7 separate regions of the Homo sapiens genome follow, and all the other regions are linked to region 5. The links are contacts of gene promoters, found by promoter capture Hi-C in blood cells and fetal thymus (Javierre and others, 2016). All regions are on one chromosome and are shown on one strand. The core of a region is centred on a gene start or on the middle of the fragment in contact, and the rest is flanking DNA. Distances in the headings are between cores, read along the strand shown. Region 1 overlaps ZNF544 (zinc finger protein 544). Region 2 holds the start of ZNF583 (zinc finger protein 583). Region 3 overlaps ZNF8 (zinc finger protein 8). Region 4 overlaps ZNF274 (zinc finger protein 274). Region 5 holds the start of ZNF548 (zinc finger protein 548). Region 6 holds the start of ZNF497 (zinc finger protein 497). Region 7 holds the start of ZNF8 (zinc finger protein 8).

The links. The method cuts DNA at HindIII sites, captures the fragments that hold promoters and counts their contacts. A CHiCAGO score of 5 or more calls a contact.
Region 1: a fragment that was not itself captured here is called in contact with the fragment with the promoter of ZNF548 in region 5 in 2 of 17 cell types (total B cells and naive CD8 T cells); the score reaches 7.7 in total B cells.
Region 2: a contact is called between the fragment with the promoter of ZNF583 here and the fragment with the promoter of ZNF548 in region 5, in 2 of 17 cell types (total CD8 T cells and naive CD4 T cells). The highest score is 5.4, in total CD8 T cells.
Region 3: a contact is called between a fragment that was not itself captured here and the fragment with the promoter of ZNF548 in region 5, in 1 of 17 cell types (total B cells). The highest score is 5.7, in total B cells.
Region 4: a contact is called between a fragment that was not itself captured here and the fragment with the promoter of ZNF548 in region 5, in 6 of 17 cell types (naive CD8 T cells, naive CD4 T cells, non-activated CD4 T cells and 3 more). The highest score is 6.5, in naive CD8 T cells.
Region 6: a contact is called between the fragment with the promoter of ZNF497 here and the fragment with the promoter of ZNF548 in region 5, in 5 of 17 cell types (non-activated CD4 T cells, naive CD4 T cells, naive CD8 T cells and 2 more). The highest score is 10.3, in non-activated CD4 T cells.
Region 7: the fragment with the promoter of ZNF8 here is called in contact with the fragment with the promoter of ZNF548 in region 5 in 1 of 17 cell types (neutrophils); the score reaches 6.5 in neutrophils.

What each region holds. Positions count from the first base shown.
Region 1 is chr19:58,229,435-58,232,134 of GRCh38, forward strand. It overlaps ZNF544 (zinc finger protein 544), which reads left to right. Exons shown (of 7, transcript NM_014480.4): 2 at 34-136; 3 at 960-1,028. Among named protein-coding and RNA genes, the nearest start is that of ZNF544, 1.9 kb to the left of the region's middle. RefSeq lists an enhancer at 1-182. The HindIII fragment of the contact is 2,213 bases long and covers 145-2,357 here.
Region 2 is chr19:56,403,053-56,405,752 of GRCh38, forward strand. It overlaps ZNF583 (zinc finger protein 583), which reads left to right and starts at 1,280. Exons shown (of 5, transcript NM_152478.3): 1 at 1,280-1,400. RefSeq lists an enhancer at 704-843 and a silencer at 1,304-1,513. The HindIII fragment of the contact is 8,045 bases long and covers 1-2,700 here.
Region 3 is chr19:58,300,584-58,303,283 of GRCh38, forward strand. ZNF8 (zinc finger protein 8) reads left to right here. Exons shown (of 4, transcript NM_021089.3): 4 at 1-2,208. All of the region lies in intron 4 of ZNF8-ERVK3-1 (ZNF8-ERVK3-1 readthrough (NMD candidate)), which reads left to right. Among named protein-coding and RNA genes, the nearest start is that of ERVK3-1, 3.4 kb to the right of the region's middle. The HindIII fragment of the contact is 9,060 bases long and covers 1-2,700 here.
Region 4 is chr19:58,184,699-58,187,398 of GRCh38, forward strand. It overlaps ZNF274 (zinc finger protein 274), which reads left to right. Exons shown (of 8, transcript NM_133502.3): 3 at 1,014-1,140; 4 at 2,249-2,344. Among named protein-coding and RNA genes, the nearest start is that of ZNF274, 3.0 kb to the left of the region's middle. The HindIII fragment of the contact is 1,171 bases long and covers 837-2,007 here.
Region 5 is chr19:57,388,410-57,391,109 of GRCh38, forward strand. ZNF548 (zinc finger protein 548) reads left to right here and starts at 1,445. Exons shown (of 4, transcript NM_001172773.2): 1 at 1,445-1,705. The coding sequence starts at 1,691. RefSeq lists enhancers at 1,003-1,082, 1,223-1,702. The HindIII fragment of the contact is 17,908 bases long and covers 986-2,700 here.
Region 6 is chr19:58,361,495-58,364,194 of GRCh38, forward strand. ZNF497 (zinc finger protein 497) reads right to left here and starts at 1,257. Exons shown (of 3, transcript NM_198458.3): 1 at 1,183-1,257. It overlaps ZNF497-AS1 (ZNF497 antisense RNA 1), which reads left to right and starts at 1,132. Exons shown (of 3, transcript NR_136527.1): 1 at 1,132-1,258. It also overlaps the pseudogene RNA5SP473. RefSeq lists enhancers at 544-1,092, 822-951. The HindIII fragment of the contact is 6,825 bases long and covers 1-2,700 here.
Region 7 is chr19:58,277,558-58,280,257 of GRCh38, forward strand. It overlaps ZNF8 (zinc finger protein 8), which reads left to right and starts at 1,398. Exons shown (of 4, transcript NM_021089.3): 1 at 1,398-1,590. The coding sequence starts at 1,525. ZNF8-DT (ZNF8 divergent transcript) reads right to left here and starts at 1,185. Exons shown (of 3, transcript NR_187495.1): 1 at 966-1,185. It overlaps ZNF8-ERVK3-1 (ZNF8-ERVK3-1 readthrough (NMD candidate)), which reads left to right and starts at 1,409. Exons shown (of 7, transcript NR_144447.1): 1 at 1,409-2,700. RefSeq lists enhancers at 1,474-1,523, 1,944-1,993. The HindIII fragment of the contact is 22,069 bases long and covers 1-2,700 here.

The DNA of each region.
Region 1 (2,700 bases), core at 1-2,500, 840 kb after region 5:
TCCCTCAACTCATCTTCTGCGGCTTATCCACAGGTGGCAGCCAAGAGCCTCCTGGCACAGCGGCACCAGGCAGGTGACGCCTATTGGACCCCAGAGGTCATCCCAGCTCCAGACGTGGACACATTTTCTTCCAATGGTACGTGAAGCTTGAACCTTGCAGAGAACATGTGTATTTTCCAAGTGAACAGAAGATTAAGGCCAGTCCACGCAGGGCAGGGGTAACTGGGGTGTTGGGGGCCTGCACTGGTTAAGCGATGCTGGTGCACCCCATAGAGAGACTACAGAGGTGAACAGGATGGGATGTGTATGTAACGCCTGTAAGTTAGGGATCGGGGTTCCATTTGTGTTGGGTGATATTTGATGGGGACCGTACAAGGCAGTGCTAATGAGGAAGGCATGGGGTTGGATTTCAAGAGTCTAAGGGAGTAGGGAAACATCTGATTGTGGAAATGACTCCGTGTAAGGAGGGATGCCAAAAGACAGGAAGGAGTGGAGGAAGACTGTGTTTCTGTTTCCAGCGTGGAGCCAGGGTAGAAGTCACAGTGCAAGGAAGATGTGGTATGCCTGGTCAGTCTCTGCATGGGAGTTGAGGAGCATGTGGGTGACATGGCTGAATGTGGAGGAGGGAATGGCAGTGGCAGGAAGCCCAGGAGGTTTGGGCTGGACACGTAACCTGGAGCAGATTGGAAACGTCACCCCACAAGCAGGGAAGGAGAAAACTGGAAAAGGAAAGAGAAAGCAACTCCCTCCCCAGCCCTGCAGCCAGAGGGACTTCTGCCAGATCAGCCACCATACAGGTCCAGTATGAGGAACAGATGGGGAATTTTATGTCCAAGTATAATCACTATGAATACATGTGTTGTGCCCCTTTTGCAGGTTAACACAATGTTAAGCTCTGTAAATGCAACTCAATTAATTCTTTTAGCATCCTCACAAGGCAGGTCTTGCTGTTTTTCCAGATGTCTACGGATGAGGAAACTGAGGCCTGGAGAGGTTAAAGAGACCCGTTCAGAGTCCTACAGTGGCAGGTAATGGAGCCAGTACTTTGACAGCAGGTTGCAAAGTGAGTGTTCTCAGCCGTTGCCCTTGGATGCCTCCAGACAAGGAAGGACAGGGTTAGAGAGCAAAGATGGACACAGGCAGTGAGAGATTCCCCAGGGAAGGCCAGGAGCATCAGGACAAGATAGTAACACATAAGATATTGGGCAGACCTCTTGGATGTGGTCTACATTTGTGTTTGTGTGTGTGTTTGGGAGTGAGAGAGCAGAGCAGGATGGGCAAGATGAGGAGGGGGAAACTGAGAGTGTTGGTCACTCTGTTCAGGCCTCACCTGAGAGGAGAAGAGGCAGGGGGTGGGGCACTGGGATATGGATTCATCTTGACCAGGGAGAAGACATCTCAGCTCAGAATTTGAAGGGAGCTACTAATGAGTGCAGGCCTGCAGGAGTTTGTGTGCCAGGAGGTTGAAAGAGTCCAGAGTCATCCCTTGGAGTGAATTAAAAGGCCGATTTGTCTGCACAGAGAGGACAGTGGTGGGAGGGGACTGAAGTAGGGTGTGAGAGCATGAGCTCGCAGCTGTAAGGGGATAGTGACTGAGTGGATACTGGTGTTCCTGAACTCCTATACCACCCAGAACTCAGAAACTAGCAGGGTTGGGCAGAGAGGGCAGTCAAGGGCATAGGCAGATTGCACAGAACAAACAGATCAGAGAGGCCAAGAGGTGGGCCTCAGGCCAAGGATGTTAAGAAAAAGAACAGGGGCATTGGGCTGGGCTGGGGTGGGGTGTACCAGACGGGGAGGCTGGGAGCCTGAGTGGTAGTGTGCTTAGGGCCATGAGCTATGGAGCTCCCACCTTCTCACTCCCCAGCCACGAGGCCTCAGTTAAATTTTACTCAAGTTCTTTCTGCCTTGGTTTCCTCATTTAGAAAGCAGGGTAAATTCTGTTAATTGTCTTTGTGGGGTTACAAGGAAGATCAAATGCATGAATTCAGGCAGAGGACAGGGTACAGTGCCTGGCCTGTAGGAAGTACAGCCTGAGTGGTCAGTGGATTTTGAAAGGTAGGAAGGCCTGGGGCATTTGCTAGGGAAGGAAGCTGAGATCATAGGCCCCGGTGTGTTTTAATTCATGTCTTTATTATTTATTTTTTTATAAATGGGGTCTCACATGTTGCCCAGGCTTGTCTCGAACTTCTAGCCTCAAGAGAGCCTCCTGCCTTGGCCTCACAAAGTGCTGGGATTATATGTCTTTAATACAGAGCAGCTTTGTACATTTTTCAGCCATGTAGTTTATTTTATTGTGAACTATCTGTTTGTGACTGTCACCTCTCTTTTTCGTAGGTCTCTATTTTCATTAAAGAAGCTTAAATATTTTGTCAAGTTCAAAAAATAGTCCTGGTGTGTTTTTTGTTTTGTTTTGTTTTTTTCTTGAGACAAGGTCTTGCTCTGTCACCTAGGCTGGAATGGTGGCATGACCTCGGCTCACTGCAGTCTCCGCCTCCTGGGTTCAAGCGATTCTTGTGCCTCAGCCTCCCAAGTTACTGGGATTACAGATGTGTGCCGCCACGCCCAGCTAATTTTTTTTTTTTTTAGTATAGACAGGGTTTCTCCATGTTGTCCAGGCTGGTCTTGAACTTGAAAACTAATACAAAATATAATATGTAATGCCAGAAATAAGACTAGTTCTCACAGTAAATGTGATGG
Region 2 (2,700 bases), core at 30-2,529, 990 kb before region 5:
AAACTCCCAAAAGACAGGGTTTAGAGAGCTTCCACCCAGCTGAACATGTGGAGGTTACTGGAAGGTGCAACACCCTTTTTTCTGTACTTTGCCCTACGCATCTCTTCATCTATATCATTTGTAATATCCTTTATAATAAACTAGTAAACATAAGTGTTTCCTGAGTTCCGTGAGCCACTCTAGCAAAATATCGAACCGCAAAGAGGGGGTGGTGAAAATCCCAATTTGAAGGTGGTGGAGTCAGATGTTCCAGAGGCTAGACTTTAGTGGGAAGTGGGAAGGGGGAGGCAGGCTTGGGGACTGAGCCCTCAGCGAATGGTGTCTGACCCATCTCCAAGTAGACGGCGTCGGAATTAAACTGGAGGACACCCAGCTGGTGCCCGCTGCAGAACTCACTGAACTCATTGCTTGCTTGAGATGTGTGGGAAACTCCCCTATATTTGGTCAGAAAAGTCTTCTGTTATGATTAGTTGTCGTTGAGATAATAGAAAAAAATGCACCTTGCGTTTTTTCCACTGATTCAGAGGGCATAACTGAAAGAATGAAGAACTGAAAGAATGATCTTAATACTCTGCTTCGCTTTTCTTGATAATACGCATTACTTCCCAATATGCATCAGTGTCCTTTATTATTAATTTTTTCCTATTGAATTCCTCCCGCATTAGAATGCTGCTCCATGAGGTGGGGATTTTGTCTGCTTGTTCACTGCTGTGTGCCCAGGGCCCACGACAGTGCCCGATACAGCAGGCGCTCAATAAGTGGCGAATGAAAGACAGGGCAAGGCGGAGAGAGAAGAAACAGAAAGGGAAAGAGAAAGCCCGGGCCGCCAGAGCGCTTAATCACACGTACATCCTACCGGGCCCCTCTCCAGCTGGCTCAGGCTCCACACTGGTCCTCCAGCTCCCTTTTCTCAGCGATGGACTCACAGCCCCACCCGGAGCGCTGGAGCGCGGACGCGGTCACTGCGCGTGCGCCTCACCGCGCTGGCACCCCGGCCTGGCAGCCTTTGGGGACCTGAACCAGCTGCGCCTGCGCAGGTGGAACGGGTGGAACGGGTGGGGGAGCGGACAGTCGAACGGCCTGAGAGGGCTCAGCTGGTCCGGGTGGGATTCTGAAGGCCAGCGGAGGTGGGCTTACTAGGGAAAGGGGCGCAGCAGTAACTACCCGCAACTGAGCGGCGGGATCTGCGGCCGCCCGGGGCCCTCGGCCAACATCCCAGCATCCTCTGCGCCGCGCCGGCCCCGGACTCCATTTCCCAGCGGCCCCTGCGGCCTGCCCTAGGGCTGCGGCGCCTTTGTGAGCGCGGCCGCCGGCCAGGATCGAGCCCTGGCCCGGGCCCTGGCCCAGCCCCGGCCTCCAAGGACCGCGCCGAAGGAGGTGCCCACTGGAGGGAGGAGGCGGTGAGGAGCGCGGGATGGAGCTGACGCCGGGAGCGGCCATGCCACCATGTGTGGGACCGTGTGTGACAGTGTGTGAGAATGTGTGAGACATTAAGGAACCGTGTGTGACAATGTGTTTGACAGTGTGGAATCGTGTGTGAGACCATGTGTGACTGTGTGAGAATTTGAGACCGTGTGTGACAGTGTGAGAATGTGAGGCCGTGTGTGAATATGTGTGTCAGTGTGAGACCATGTGGGACAAATGTGGGACTATGTGTGACAGTATGAGACTGGGTGTGAGAATGTGTGCGACAGTATGAGACCGTTGCCCCGGTGTATGCGGGAGCCTTTGACAGTATATGGGACCGTGTGGGACTGTGTGACACTGTATGTGCTTAAGACCACGTCACCATGTGTGAGACTGGGAATGTGTGACAGTGTTAAACTGTCATTATGTGTAGACCACGTGTGAACAGTGTGTAAGACCATGTCACTGTGTGTGTGACCTGTGTGTGTGGGATAATGTAAGACTGTGTGACAGTGTGTGTGACTTTGTGAACAGAGCTTGACCGTGTGTGTAGGATTAGATGAGACTGTGACAGTATGTGAGACCATGTCACCGTGTGTGAGGCTATGTGTGGTTGTGTACGGTGTGTGGCTGTTGATATGGGACCACATGAAACTGCGACAGAATTTGTGTGACAGTGTGTGAGACTGTGTCACTGTATGTGAAACTGTATGTGAACAGAGTTTTTGTTGTTGGACTAAGATTGTATGTGACAGTGTTTGAGATTGTGCATGACAGTGTGTGTGATTATGTGAGACTGAGGGAGATGGTGTGACTTAGCACTGTATGTCATCCCGACAGTGAGTGTGACAGTGTGACTGAGAATGGCCTTATATGACCCATTGTGAGAGCAGGGCGGGCTACAATGTGGGGGCATGTCCATAGGTTGCCAGGGGAGGTGCCAGAATGAGAAACTATGTGGTTTGTTGTCTGTGATTTGTGTGGGCAGGAAGCTGTGTGGGTGCTTGGAGATGCTGGTGTGCTCTGGGGTTTGGGAGACTGCTGTTGTGGTGGAGAGACAGAAAGATTGAGATAAAGGGGAAAAGATGGAGAAAGGGAGGGACGAGAGCTGAAAAGGGAGAGACAGACAGGAGCCTCAGCCTTAAGCCTGAAAAGCTGACCACGCTGGCTGCTTGTCCTCTGGCACAGTAGTTTTTCCATCCCTCTCAGTCTCTGGGGGCACGTGAGGAATTTAAAAGGAAAAAGGAATGGGAGACCTACCATGTGCTGGTTATGAAAATAAATGACAGAAAG
Region 3 (2,700 bases), core at 2-2,501, 910 kb after region 5:
GAAAAGTCCTGGGAAGTGGATGATGGAGGCAGCTAGCCGTAGCTGCTGCTTTTCTCTTCAAGCTCTTGGGAGAATTGCTTGTGCTCCCTATTCCCTTGGTGGATGATGGAGGCAGCTAGCCGTATCTGCTGCTTTTCTCCTTCAAGCTCTTGGGAGAATCGCTTGTGCTCCCTATTCCCTTGGTGGCAGCTCACACCTCAGACCTGCTGTCCGCCCCCACTGCTTCACAGAACCCACTGCAACCACTGTCCAAGGTACTACCTCTGGTGTCGTCTCTCTTCATCCCCAGGACTGTGAAGCCTGCTAACCTCTTTGCAGAGCTCCATCTCCTTGCATTGTGGGGTTCCTTCTAACTCTTCAGGGACTTCTCAACCTCCCGTCACCCTTCCTAAATGCTGGGGTCCTAGAGTCCACCTTGTGCTCCACGCCCTCCCCAGGTGTCATCTACATCCCTAGCTTTGTGCTGCTCACCACCAAATCAGTCTGGTGCTTCTGAGATTTGGGCTTCAGACCCAAACAACTGCTGTGTGCTACTGGGCAACTCCCCGAGGTGTGCCGAAAGCTCCCCAAACCCAGCCTACCCCAAACAAAACTCATTTTCCACCCAGACTAGTCTCTGCTTCCCTGATCCCTTTCCTGGAGGCTGTTTCCACTTGCCATCCCATCATGGAAGCCAGAAAACCAGTCTTCTTGACCTCTCCCCTTCCCCACTCCATGGAGTTAGAGGTCCTGTTGATTTTGCCATGTAAACATTTCGGATTTGCTTACTTCATCCCCACTGCCACCAACAGTGCAGGATGGCCCTAAGAGGAGAAGTAATGTGCTACCAAGTGGCCCAGCCAGAGTGTGAACCAAACAGTCTGGTACCAAAACCCTATTCTGGATCATTCCTCCTTTCTGCTCCACCAGCAGTTTGGGGCACAGGCTTGGGAATCCAGACAGGAAAGCTCCTCCCCTCTGAAGCAGTGGGACCAAAAATGACAGCATGGTTCTAGACAGCTCTGGAAGTCAGGCCTGTGATTGCCTCATTCCCTCCACCTTGGCCCCCAAAATGGCCAGTCCTGAAGGGGTCACAGTTGATACTTCTCTGAGGGGGCATGGGGTTGGCTGAGGTTATAGCAGCCCCACAGGGTGGTAAGCTGGGATGAAGCAATCAACTGGAACTCAACAAGCCTTGAGTTCTCAAAGGGGGTGTGGGAAGGTTCTTATACATCTTCTATGAAGGGCAGTTTATCAGTCACTAAATTACAAATACATAAACCCTTTGTCTCACCAAACCTGCTGGGAATGAATCCTACATATATATTTATATGTGTGCAGGCTACATGGTTTTCATTATGCTATTGATTTTAAAAGTAAAAATTTGGAAAGAACCTCCATGTCCACCATGGGGAACTGGCTAAGTCATTTATGGTGGAATGGTGATCATAAAAATTCATTAAAAATGAAGACTCTATATACAGCTTGAATATTCCTTATCGAAATGCTTGGGACCAGAAGTGTTTCAGATCTTTGCATATTTTCTGTTTCTCATTTCAGTTCACATTTTCTAAGCATGATATTCCTACTGATTTCCTTGTAGATATTTTGAAACAGATAAGAAACTCCTCCGTGGAAATTACTGTTAACTAGGGAAAAGACATGTTTTTTTCTGTTCATAAAAGTAATGCGAGTTCTTTGTAGCAAAACTTGGAAAATGCATAAAAGTAAAAAAAAAATGAAAACTTGTGTAAAATTCCTCATACTTTAGCCATCCATAGATGGTCCTTACCATTAGGATTTTACTAATTTTCCTTGCAGCTTTTTCTTAAAATATACACGTGTGTCTACACATACATAGTGTACACTAAATTTTACATACACACAGAGGAATATATATGTGTATAGTTATCTTGTGTTTAGAAATTTGGAATCCCTTCTAGTTGTCTTGTAACATGTGCTTACTCTATTTTGAGGATTTTCTCTATGAATTTCATGTAGCTCTTTAAATTAACTTTCAGGAGGATTGTAACAATGTGCTCTCCACCCAGTATTTTACCAGCCTTGAGTTTTCTCAAAGGGGGCATTGGAGGGGTTCTTATACATTTACAGTGGGAATGTGAATTGATACAACTTCTGTGGAGGGCAGTTTATCAGCCACTATCTAAATTACACATACATAAACCCTTTGTCTAAGCAAACTTGCTGGGAATAAATCCTACACATATATTTGTATGTGTGCAGACTGTTTGTACATGGTTTTCATTATGCTATTGATTTTAAAAGTCAGAATTTGGAAACAACCCTCCATGTCCACCATGGGGAACTGGCTAAGTCATTTATGGTGGAATGGAGATCATAGCCTTAAAAATGAAGACTCTTTATATACAGGTTGAGTATCCCTTATCCAAAATGCTCAGGACCAGAAGTGTTTCAGATTTCAGATTTTTGAATTAGGGATCCTCAAACTATACTAATGTGAGAAAGAGCTCTAAGATAGTTAAGTAGATAAAAGCAAGGTGTCAAACTGTAGAGTATGTTTCCATTTATGTAAAGAAGAAACAGGCTAGGCAAGGTGACTCACGCCTGTAATCCCAGCACTTTGGGAGGCCGAGGCGGGTGGATCACCTGAGGTCCGGAGTTCAAGACCAGCCTGACCAACACGGTGAAACCCCATCTCTACTAAAAATACAAAAGCTGGGTGTGGTGGTGCACACTTCT
Region 4 (2,700 bases), core at 172-2,671, 800 kb after region 5:
TGAAGGAGATAGAAAGAAGCATCAGGGCCCTGGGTAGGGGCTGACGGCTTGGGTGTGATGGTGCAGCTCAGAGAATTCCCTAGGAGGCATACGCACCACTCCCAAAGTCAGAATTTTCAAATGAATAAGAAATAGGGGGCCGGGCGCGGTGGCTCACGTCTGTAATCCCAGCACTTTGGGAGGCCGAGGCAGGTGGATCACGAGGTCAGGAGATTGAGACCATCCTGGCTAACATAGTGAAACCCCGTCTCTACTTAAAAAAATACAAAAAATTAGCCGGGCGTGGTGGCGGGCGCCTGTAGTCCCAGCTACTCGGGAGGCTGAGGCAGGAGAATGGCGTGAACCGGGGAGGCGGAGCTTGCAGTGAGCCGAGATGGCGCCACTGCACTCCAGCCTGGGCGACAGAGAGAGACTCCGTCTCAAAAAAAAAAGAAAAGAAAAATAGGGCCGGGTGCGGTGGCTCACATGTGTAATCCCAGCACTTTGGGAGGCCGAGGCAGGCAGATCACAAGGTCAGGAGTTCGAGACCAGCTTGACCAACATGGTGAAACCCCATCTCTACTAAAAATACAAAAATTAGCCGGGCATGGTGGTATGCGCCTGTAATCCCAGCTACTCAGGAGGCTGAGGCAGGAGAATCGCTTGAACCTGGGAGGTGGAGGCTGCAGTGAGCCAAGATTGCGCCACTGCACTCCACTAGGAGACAGAGTGAGACTCTGTCTCAAAACAATAAATAAATAAATTAAATAAATAAATAAATAAATAAAATGGACAGATTTTCATATGCTACAGAGATCTCATGTGTTGCTCTCCTTATTGTAACCTGAATAGAGTCAAGCTTGGGTTTGCTTGGGGTTTCAGACAAAGACAGGAACTCAGGATGAGACTCCCAAAATGCCCTTGGGTCATCTTGTAGACCATTCTGTGCTTTCACTGGCCTGGTCAGCCTCCCCTGTCTTTCTTTTGTCGTGGATGCGGATGGCCTGTGGCTGAACAAGAATCTGGATTTTTAGGAACCAGTGACCTTTGAAGATGTAACACTGGGTTTTACCCCGGAAGAGTGGGGACTGCTGGACCTCAAACAGAAGTCCCTGTACAGGGAAGTGATGCTGGAGAACTACAGGAACCTGGTCTCAGTGGGTAAGGCTGGCCTCCAGGTCAAGAAGGATCTGTGCTTTGTAGCACAAATGTAGCACCTCTGAAGTATGTGTCTGCTTGGGCTCACACTGCAGGGGCACCAGTAGGAAAAGGGCAGCTTTTCAGTATGACTTCTGAATCATTGCCTAGTCCATCCCTCCCTGAATACCAGGGAGATGGGTCTGTCAGGGATGTTTTCAGCTGCAGTAGTGGATGCTTATTGTTCTTGCAACAAGAGTTCCGGCCAGGCATGGTGGCTCACTTTAGGAGACTGAAGCAGGAGGATTGCTTGAGCCCAGGAGTTTGAGACCAGCATGGGCAACATAGACCGTGTCTCTATTAAAAAAAAAAAAAAAAAGAAACTCCACAGAAATTCCAGACAATGCGATGCCAGTGTCCCAACAGCTTAGGAGTAGCATCAAAGAGCCTGTCCCTGCCAGGCACGGTAGCTTACGCCTGTAATCCTGGCACTTTGGGAGGCTGAGGCAGGCAGATCAGTTGAGGTCAGGAGTTCTAGACCAACCTGACCAACATGATGAAACCCTGTCTTTACTAAAAATACAAAAATTAGCCGAGCACCCCAGCTACTCAGGAGGCTGAGCCAGGAGAACTGCTTGAACATGGGAGGTGGAGGAGATTGCAGTGAGCTGAGATCAGATCACAGCACTCCAGCTTGGGCAACTGAGCAAGACTCCGTCTCAAAAAAAAAAAAAAAAAGCCTGTCCCTTCAAACTCTGGTTATTGTGAACCTTTCCATGTTCCCCCTAGTCATTGCACAGCTGTGGCTCCAAGCATTGCATCTGTGTTCAAGGCAGAAACAAGGAGAAGGGGTAGCCCTTTCACAGCTGTCATGTTTAACCAGAAAGCAAAAGCTTTCCCAGCTGACCGATCTCCCTTTGTGTCTGGCTGACCAGAACTGGACCCCTTAGCTGCTTGGCAAAGGAGTCTAGGAAAGCCAACAACAGGGATGGATGGAGTTGTGTTCACTGCTCTAGGCCAGAAGTCATGTGCCTTAGCAGGGGAGAAGCTGGAGACGGCTTGTGCTGCAGTAGGATAGCATTTTCTCCTGAACACAGACCCCCACAAGCCCTGTCTCTTTTCCTTTGAGCAGAACATCAGCTTTCCAAACCAGATGTGGTATCTCAGTTAGAGGAGGCAGAAGATTTCTGGCCAGTGGAGAGAGGAATTCCTCAAGACACCATTCCAGGTGAGAACCAGACATGGGAAGCCCCCACAGGGAAGGGGCCAACTGATGAGTCAGGGACCAGTATCTTGGAAAAGCAGTAGACATTGGGATACCCCAGGTGGGATGCTGTGATGAGCAGTTGCAGAACCAAACTCGAAGTTTTTCTCTGGCTCCACAGTCAGCAGTGTCCTACTTGGTTGAAAGTGAACCTGTTGCTGGTGGCAGGTGATACTTGTGTTGACAGTAGGGGCTCCCTTAGTCTGTTACACGCATTGTCTACTGCCCTCCCCTCATAATCACTGGTAACCCTGGTGTGTATTTCCAGCCAGACTTTCTTATATAGGCTTACGTGAATGTATGTGAATATATATACACAT
Region 5 (2,700 bases), core at 195-2,694:
AACACAGGTGAAATTTTAAATCACTTCTGAGGAAGAAGATAACATCATGGAATTCCACACCTTTTTTGAGGATAAGATGTGCATATGCTTCAACTATGAAAACGGTAGACAATGTTGTCCAGAAATGGCATGTATCAGCTGCTCTTGAGAAATAAAAATAAAATTCTAAGCACCCCCTAACTGACTGAATGGATGCCCTCTTGACCATGAGAACCCTAGAATAACTTTGGAAGCTGAATTCACCACTATAGAGGAACGGGAAATCAGACACACCTCATTATATCCCCTACCACACTACAATCATTAGGTTTTCTTCCCTAAGGGCTAAATAGAAATCAACCTTTTCAGAAGACTACTAGCTTATCTTCCAAGGTACAGAACAGAGAGAAGATGAGATTATTCATTCCTTCATCCTTCTCTGAGACATCTTCTTTATTCCCTTTTCCCCTCACGTGTTTACTCTATCTTATGTAAAATGTAGATTTACTGGGCACTAACTAAAGTTTCACATGTCTGTAATCATTTGTCTCACTGCCAACCCCTCTTCCTTTTTAAGGAAAATGTATAATAAATACTAAACCTCCTAAGAACCTCTTTGGAAAAACCAGCCACAGATGCTTCTGTGACTTACATTTTTCTGGATGTGCCCTTAGGCTGGTCCAGTAATCCTCCATGATTTGTGACTTATGCCTCAATCACTCATTTTGGTCGTCACTCTCATTTTCAGATAGGATTGTGATTCTTAAAATAAATGGAAAATATCTCAGATATGAAGTAGTAAGTATTATTAGAATAAAAGCGTTGCACCCTTCGTAGGAACACAATCGCTGACTCTACAGTCAGGTAAGATGTATTCTCTTTGATCCAGAGGCATAGCTTCACCCTTTCAACCTACTTCAGCGTCTCCTGTCATCCTTCCTACAAATTCCAGTCCATAGCCCTAACTGCGTAGTCTTTCTTTCTTCTTCTGGACCAAACATATTGAAGCTTACTAAACAGACGCCAAAGCGTAACTGTATGTGTATTTGAAAAGCAATAATATGGCTGGCAGGCATGAGTAGAGGCAGACTGCCTTTATGGTATGGGGTGTCTCTTTGGACCTGTAGTTATTGGGAATTAGCTGTGCTTAATAGAGTCTTAAGTAATAAGTTGCTAACATTTCTGTAAATATCCTATACTACAATCCAAAAAAATACCGTATGTTGCCTTTAAGAGCAAGCCAAGCCCCCTCCTGTCTTTGGAGTCGGGGACTCCGTTTCCCAGCTCCCCTGACAGTGCCACTGGGCCTTTATCTGCCATATAAGGACTGATCAACGCTCTAAGACAAGTCCGGAAGCGGTGTCGAAACTTCATAACCCAGAAGACACTGCAGCTCTCGGCGGCACGACTTACCCAATAAAGGCTTAGAAGGGGACGTTTGCGTGCGTGCGCACCGTCGGAGGGCGGGACTTCCGCCGTCCTCCTGGTGGTGGTCGTTTTGGTTCTGTGTGGTGTTTCACCAACTTCGGCCTATGGCTCTGTCTGACGTCACCGAAGTGACGGAACGGAAAAGCGCGAGAAGCGGCTCGGTTCCCACCACGGAGAGGCGGGAGTGAGTCAACTGACAAGCGCTGGGGACAGTGGCGTCCTTGTCTTGCCTTTGTCGCTCCCGCCCCGCTCTTCCCTGGCTGGGCTGGCGGAGGCCTTGCTGATGAACCTGACTGAGGTGGGTGTCCCGTCCCAGGCTCCCCCGCCCGACCGGTCCTCCCAGTGCTGAAGCCCCCTGAAGGGGCCCTGCAGGTCAGGCCCCTTGTCCCGAAGAGAGGGGCGTTCCTGTGTGGGGTCCCCGTATCAGCCGATTTGATGCAGCCTCAGAGCTCCCGTTAGGGACCTCAGGTTCAGAGCATGGAGGCGCTGCCGAGTGGGCTGTGTTGGGGCGTCAGGGGTGTGTGTTGTTTCTGCGGGAAAGAGAGGGTTTTGTGAATTCTCGCTTGGAATGGCAACCTGAGCAGCCAGTAACCATGGAAGGTTGTCAAGGGAGGGACAGTTGGAGGGGGCAGGTCCAGAGTTCGAAGTTTCAAGTTAGGAAAACCAGGTTAGGAATGGACACAGGGAGACGCGAAAAGGCCCTGAGGCCACTGCAGTAGACCCAGGAGAATTATGGTTGGGGCTGGACCAGTGACAGTAGAGGGAGATGTGATGAGATTCTTCATAGGCCTGAAAGATAGGGCCCGTAGGTTTTCCTGGTGCTTCAGTTATGTCTGAACAAAGGCAGTGAAGAACCGTTTCAAGTGTTTGTTTTGTTTTTTGTTTTCTGTTTGAACGTTTGGAAGAATGGAGTTGGGGAAGTCAGCATAAAGAGCAGATTTCCGGGAGAAGATCACAGGTTGGATTTTGGACATGGTGATTCTCAAATGTCTCAAGATGGATATGTCACACAGACAGGTGGACATAAAGGTGTGGAGTCTGAGGAAGGGGATTGGGTTGGCGATACCAGACGGATGGAGGGCTTGGACTGGGCCAGAGAATGGTCTGAGGATCAGATTGAGTAGGTCGGTCTCGGGTTTTTTTTGTTTGTTTGTTTGCATAAATTTAAGGAGTCAAGTGCAGTTTTGTTATATGGATATATTTGCATAGTGGTCAAGTCTGGGCTTTTAATGTATCCATCGCCTGAATAATGTACATTGTATCCATTAAGTAATTTTTCATCACTCATCTTCG
Region 6 (2,700 bases), core at 7-2,506, 970 kb after region 5:
TACAGGCACCAGCCTCCACACCCGCCTAATTTTTGTGTTTTCAGTACAGATGGGGTTTCACCATGTTGCTCAGGCTGGTCTTTAACTCCTGAGCTCAAGGGATCCACCCGCCTTGGCCTCCCAAAGTGCTGGGATTACAGACATGAGCCACCGCACCTGGCCTCTAGTTTTTCAAGATGCCACCTTTAGGGGAATTGGGTAAAGCGTACATAGGGTATGCATTACTTGTTACTGCATGTGAATTTATAATTACCTCAAATCAAAAGTTAAATTTTAAAAAAACGACATCTGATTTCAATAAAAATCCATATTTGTGTATTGAAGTATCAGAAATCCGGGTCCCCCAAGGGCCCATGTTTCTTAAGGCGGAGCCAGGCACCGCTGCCCCTCCATCCTGTGGTGTGCGACCCCGACCCGCCAGCCCCCAGCCGCATCTATCAGGGCTGCCGTCCTGAGTCCGTCCTCGTCGTGGGATAGCATGTGAGCCCCGTAAGGTCCTTCCTGTCGGCCTCACTGCTCCAGCCTCCCCGACGTCCTCACGTCCACGCTGCGTGCCCTTTCTGAGCCTCAACGCCTCCTCCTCACCTCGACATGATCAGAGCCACCTCCCGCGTCAGTCCCAGCGCCCACGCCCCCAACAACGGGCACTTGTCCGACCAGTCACGGGTACTTGTGTCTCCCCCACAACCCCCAAGGCCTAGGCTGGACAAACAAATACGGAGTGGATAAAGGGGAGGAAGCTGCGGCCAGGTGGCGCGAGGCCTGTGCGGGCAGCTCCGGAGGCTGGGAGGCGAGCCCAGCCTGGTGAGCTCCGAAACTACCCGGGGCTGGGGACTGATGAACGAATAAATGAATGTGGGAAGAAATGATGGCGCGGCAGGGCATGAGTGAATGAGTGAAAGAATAAACGAGCAGGAGGAACGATGCCACAGAACTGATCGCCATAAGGCTCGCGTTCACCGAGAGAACAGCAAACGGGAGCCATTTCCGTCCCGACCACGGTCGCCTCTGGCCCGTGCAGGGCCACTTCCGGGCCGCTCTGGACGGCGCGGAGGCCTATCTCTCGGTGGTCCCAGAGGGCCCAGCTCAGGGCCGAGGCCCGTCCTGCCCCGCGCGGCGGGAGTGGTTGGAGCCGGAGGGCGGATCTGTGCCTGGCCGAGGGTGTCCGTCGGCGTCACTCACCGTCCTCGGCCCGCCTCTGCGTCCACTAGGAGCGGCCTGAAAGAGGCCCGCACGCGGGCTCGAGCCGCGTGGAATGGTAGGAGGGCGGGCACCGGGTCTCCTGGGGGCGCGGTTGCATTCGGCAGAGCGGCCCAAGGCGTCGCGTTTCTCCCCACTGCGCCTGCGTAACTATGCCGCGGCTGCGGGCGCGCGCCTTCTGGTTCCCATGGGGACGGCGCCACAGCCAAGCTACTCGGGCGTCCTGCGTTGCCATGGATGCGCTCCGCCCCTTCCTGCACCCGGCCAGCCTCTGCGGCACACACCCAACAGCTACACAGGCGCCTGGGGCTGCCCGGGTCGCGGACGCAAGTCGGGCCAACGTAGCTTCTCCCTGGCGGTCCTCCTCCGGCCCCAGGCCGTCTTTACCACCCTGGAACCTTGCTGAGTTGACGCCACTGAGCTGCGTCTCACACCCACGCGCTGTGGAACACCCACCAAGCTGGAATCCACGCGGTTTTTAAAATAGAGTCGGGGGCCGGGCGCGGTGACTCACGCCTGTAATCCCAGCACTTTGGGAGGTCGAGGCGGGCGGATCACGAGGTCAGGAGATCGAGACCATCCTGGCTAACACGGAGAAACCCCGTCTCTACTAAAAATACAAAAAATTAGCCGGGCGTGGTGGCGGGCGCCTGTAGTCCCAGCTACTCGGGAGGCTGAGGCAGGAGAATCGCTTGAACCTGGGAGGCGGAGCTTGCAGTGAGCCGAGATCGCGACACTGCACTCCAGCCTGGGGCGACAGAACGAGACTCCGTCTCAAAAAAAAAAAAAAAAAATTGAGTCGGGATCTCAGAAGCTAAGCAGGGTCGGGCCTGGTTAGTACTTGGGAGACCGTCTGGGAACACCGAGTGCTGTTGGCTAAAATAAATAAATAAACCGGGCGCGGTGGCTCACGCCTGTAATCCCAGAACTTTGGGAGGCCGAGGCGGGCAGATCACGAGGTCAGGAGTTCGAGACCAGCCTGACCAACATGGTGAAACCCCGTCTCTACTGAAAATACAAAAATTAGGCTTGTTGGCGTGTGCCTATAATCCCAGCTACTCGGGAGGCTGAGGCAGGAGAATCGCTTGAACCGGGGAGGCAGAAGTTACAGTGAGCTGAGGTCGTGCCACTGCACACTCCAGCCTGGGTGACAGAGCAAGACTCCGTCTCAAAAAACAACATAGACCAGATGCTGTAAGCTAAAATAAATGAATAGCTAGAGACGGGGTCTCGCTATATGGCCCAGGCTGGTCTTGAACTTCTGGGCTCAAGTGATCCTCCCACCTTGGCCTCCCAAAGTGCTAGGATTACAGACCCGAGCCACTGCACCCGGCCTCCACGAGCTCTTTTTGTACCAATTTTTCCCAATTTGTACTAGGGAGCTCTCACCTCAGCCCAGGTGGTTTGGGCAGGTGTGGGTACATGGCCCAGGTCCACAGCACAGGGCAGTCCATCCCTCTGGCCCTGGCAGTGGTCACTTTGGACCTGTGAGCATCGTGG
Region 7 (2,700 bases), core at 148-2,647, 890 kb after region 5:
TAACTTTTTATTTTTTTTTTGAGACGGAGTCTTGCTCTGTCACCCAGGCTGGAGTGCAGTGGCCTGACCTCGGCTCACGGCAACCTCCGCCTCCCAGGTTCAAGCGATTCTCCTGCCTCAGCCTCCCGAGAAGCTGGGACTACAGGTGCCCGCCACCACGCCGGGCTAATTTTTGTATTTTTAGTAGAGACGGGGTTTCACCATATTGGCCAGGTTGGTCTCGAGCTCCTGACATCGTGATCCACCCGCCTCGACTTCCCAAAGTGCTGGGATTATAGGCGTTAGCCACCGCGCCCGACCTTTAATAAACATTTTAATGGACTACAACAGACCCACAGAAAAAGACACATCACAAAGTGAACACCCACAGGGAGAAGCAATAGGGCTGTCAGAGGCATTCGACCCAGAGCGACTCCATTTTGAGTGAGGGCTAGGAAAATGAGGCTGGGCTGCATTCCCAGAAAAGTAGGTATTCCTAACCTCTAGATGTTTACGGTTAAGGGAACAAATTAATAATGGGTACTAAAACAGACCCAGACTTGGGAGTGTCCAGATATCCCGGTATCTAGAGAACAAAGGCATTCCTAATTTTGCTTTAAAAATAATATCGATTCTTGAAAAATACAGTAAGAAAATTAATCCTTTTTCACAAACCCTTGTAGCAGAGCACATCTCCCCAAAATCTATTTTTAGCCCAAATATACACAAGCATTGTACCTAGGGTGCATACGTTCCTCTTACTTTCAGGAACGTCCTACTGTCTATGGGGTAGCTGTTTCACAACTTTACTTTCTCAACAAACTTGCTTTTACTTTGCACTGCGGACTCGCCCTGAATTTTTTCTTGCGCGAGATCCAAGAACCCTCCCTTGGGGTCTGAATCGGACCCCTTTCCTGTAACACAACCACCGCTCCCAGCCTCCCCGCTTCCAGCCGCTAAGCCCAAAGTCTTTTATATGAACAAACCTCTAACTCGTCCTGTGACTTTGATGCGTGTGCGTTTTAGGCACCGGGGAGCAGAGGGTAAAGCGGCGCAGCTCCGGGCCTCCTCCCGCGCAAGTTCCCGAGAAGAGCAGGTCCGGCCCGCGCAGACGTGCACGGTCCCCAGCCATTAGGAGGAGCAGACGGTCCCCACCCCCACAATCAGTCATCTCTCGGGGTCCGCCCTTGCTTCCTGCCCACGAGTGAGGCCTCTGGTTGCCCGCAACCTAAGGGGCATCGCAGCCCCGAGCAACACCGCCCCCACCAGCCTTAGCTGAGTGCTCCCATTGGCCAGAGGCCAGCGGGTGGGGGCTCCCATTGGCCATCGGCCATAATGCTTCCATTGGTCGAAGGCCAGACCAGCGGAGACTCCCATTGGCCGAGGGCTGTGGTTCGCCGCACGGCCTACTGGGAGTTGTAGTCGCCGCGTCGCCGGTGCGGCCGCCATTGTCCGGCGTTCGGCGAGTCGGGTGGTCCCTTTGGCTGGAGTGCCTCTCTGGTCTGGGGATCACCTCAGGCGCTGTCCTTCACTGGGCGATCCAGCATGGACCCCGAGGACGAAGGGGTAGCGGGAGTGATGTCTGTGGGGCCGCCGGCGGCCCGGCTTCAGGTAACAATAACAACAATAACGACGGCGGCGGGCTCCGGGCAAGCGTCTCCCGCGCAGACTGACCCTTTCACCTCGCGGCGCGATGAGAGCGGCACCGCTGTTAATGCCCTTGACACGTGGGGAAACTCAGACGCGGGTCGGGGCGTGGTGACCGTCCTGGCTGGTCAGAGAGGGGGCCGGGATTCCAACCAGGCGCCTGGCCCCCGAATGCGCATGCTCCACGCGGCTCTGTCCTCCCCAGGGCTGGGGTCGGTCATTCCCGAGAGAATCGAGCAGGCCCATCTCCTGCGTTCTGCTCCGCCCCGCCGACACCCTTGCCCATTCCAGGAAGGTCTGTCCTCGTGTTGACTGATAACAGTAATTGTAGCGTTGGCCGGGTGCCCAGATGGCAAGAATCATCGAATAGAGATGCTTTAACGCGTGGAGTCAGCGGACACCCACCGGGACCCCAGCACCGCGGAGCCCCTGCCCTGGGGCTTGGGCACAACCTCTTGGGGGCAATGATGGGTCACCACGCACTGAGTGTGATGAGAGTGACCACCAGGGTCGTCCCCTGCGAGACTGTGGGAGAACTGCAGTGCAGGGCGGTCAGTGTTTGCAGGGCCATCTGGCCATCAGAGCTCCACTTTCTAGACAAAGTGGTTGCGGCCTGTGTTCTCCATAAAGCTGCCTCGCGTGGCAGGAAACAACAATAATTATCCTTCCTCAAGCTCTGCAACTTTGAAATTATACTTTTTTTTATTTTTTGTCGTTGGTTTGTTCATGGGGATTTGCATTATTTCAGATTTGGTACACAAAGTGAGACTTGATAATCTTAGGTTGCAGGTTTTCAGATGTGTGTTGCTCCAAATTTGCATGAAATGCTACCACGTTTTATTTTGTTCTTGCTGTGGATGGGGGACAAGGAATGAGTCGTAAGAAAGGCTTGAGAGAAAGTGTATTAGTTACCTGTTGCTGTGTAACTCAAAACTTCGTGACCTGGAACAACAATAAATATCTCACGAGTTCTGACAGGAGTAATGGAATGTCCTAGCTGGTGGTTCTGGTTCAGGCCCATGAAGTTACAGTGAAGATGTCAGCATAGCTGTTGTCACCTGAGACCTGAGTCTG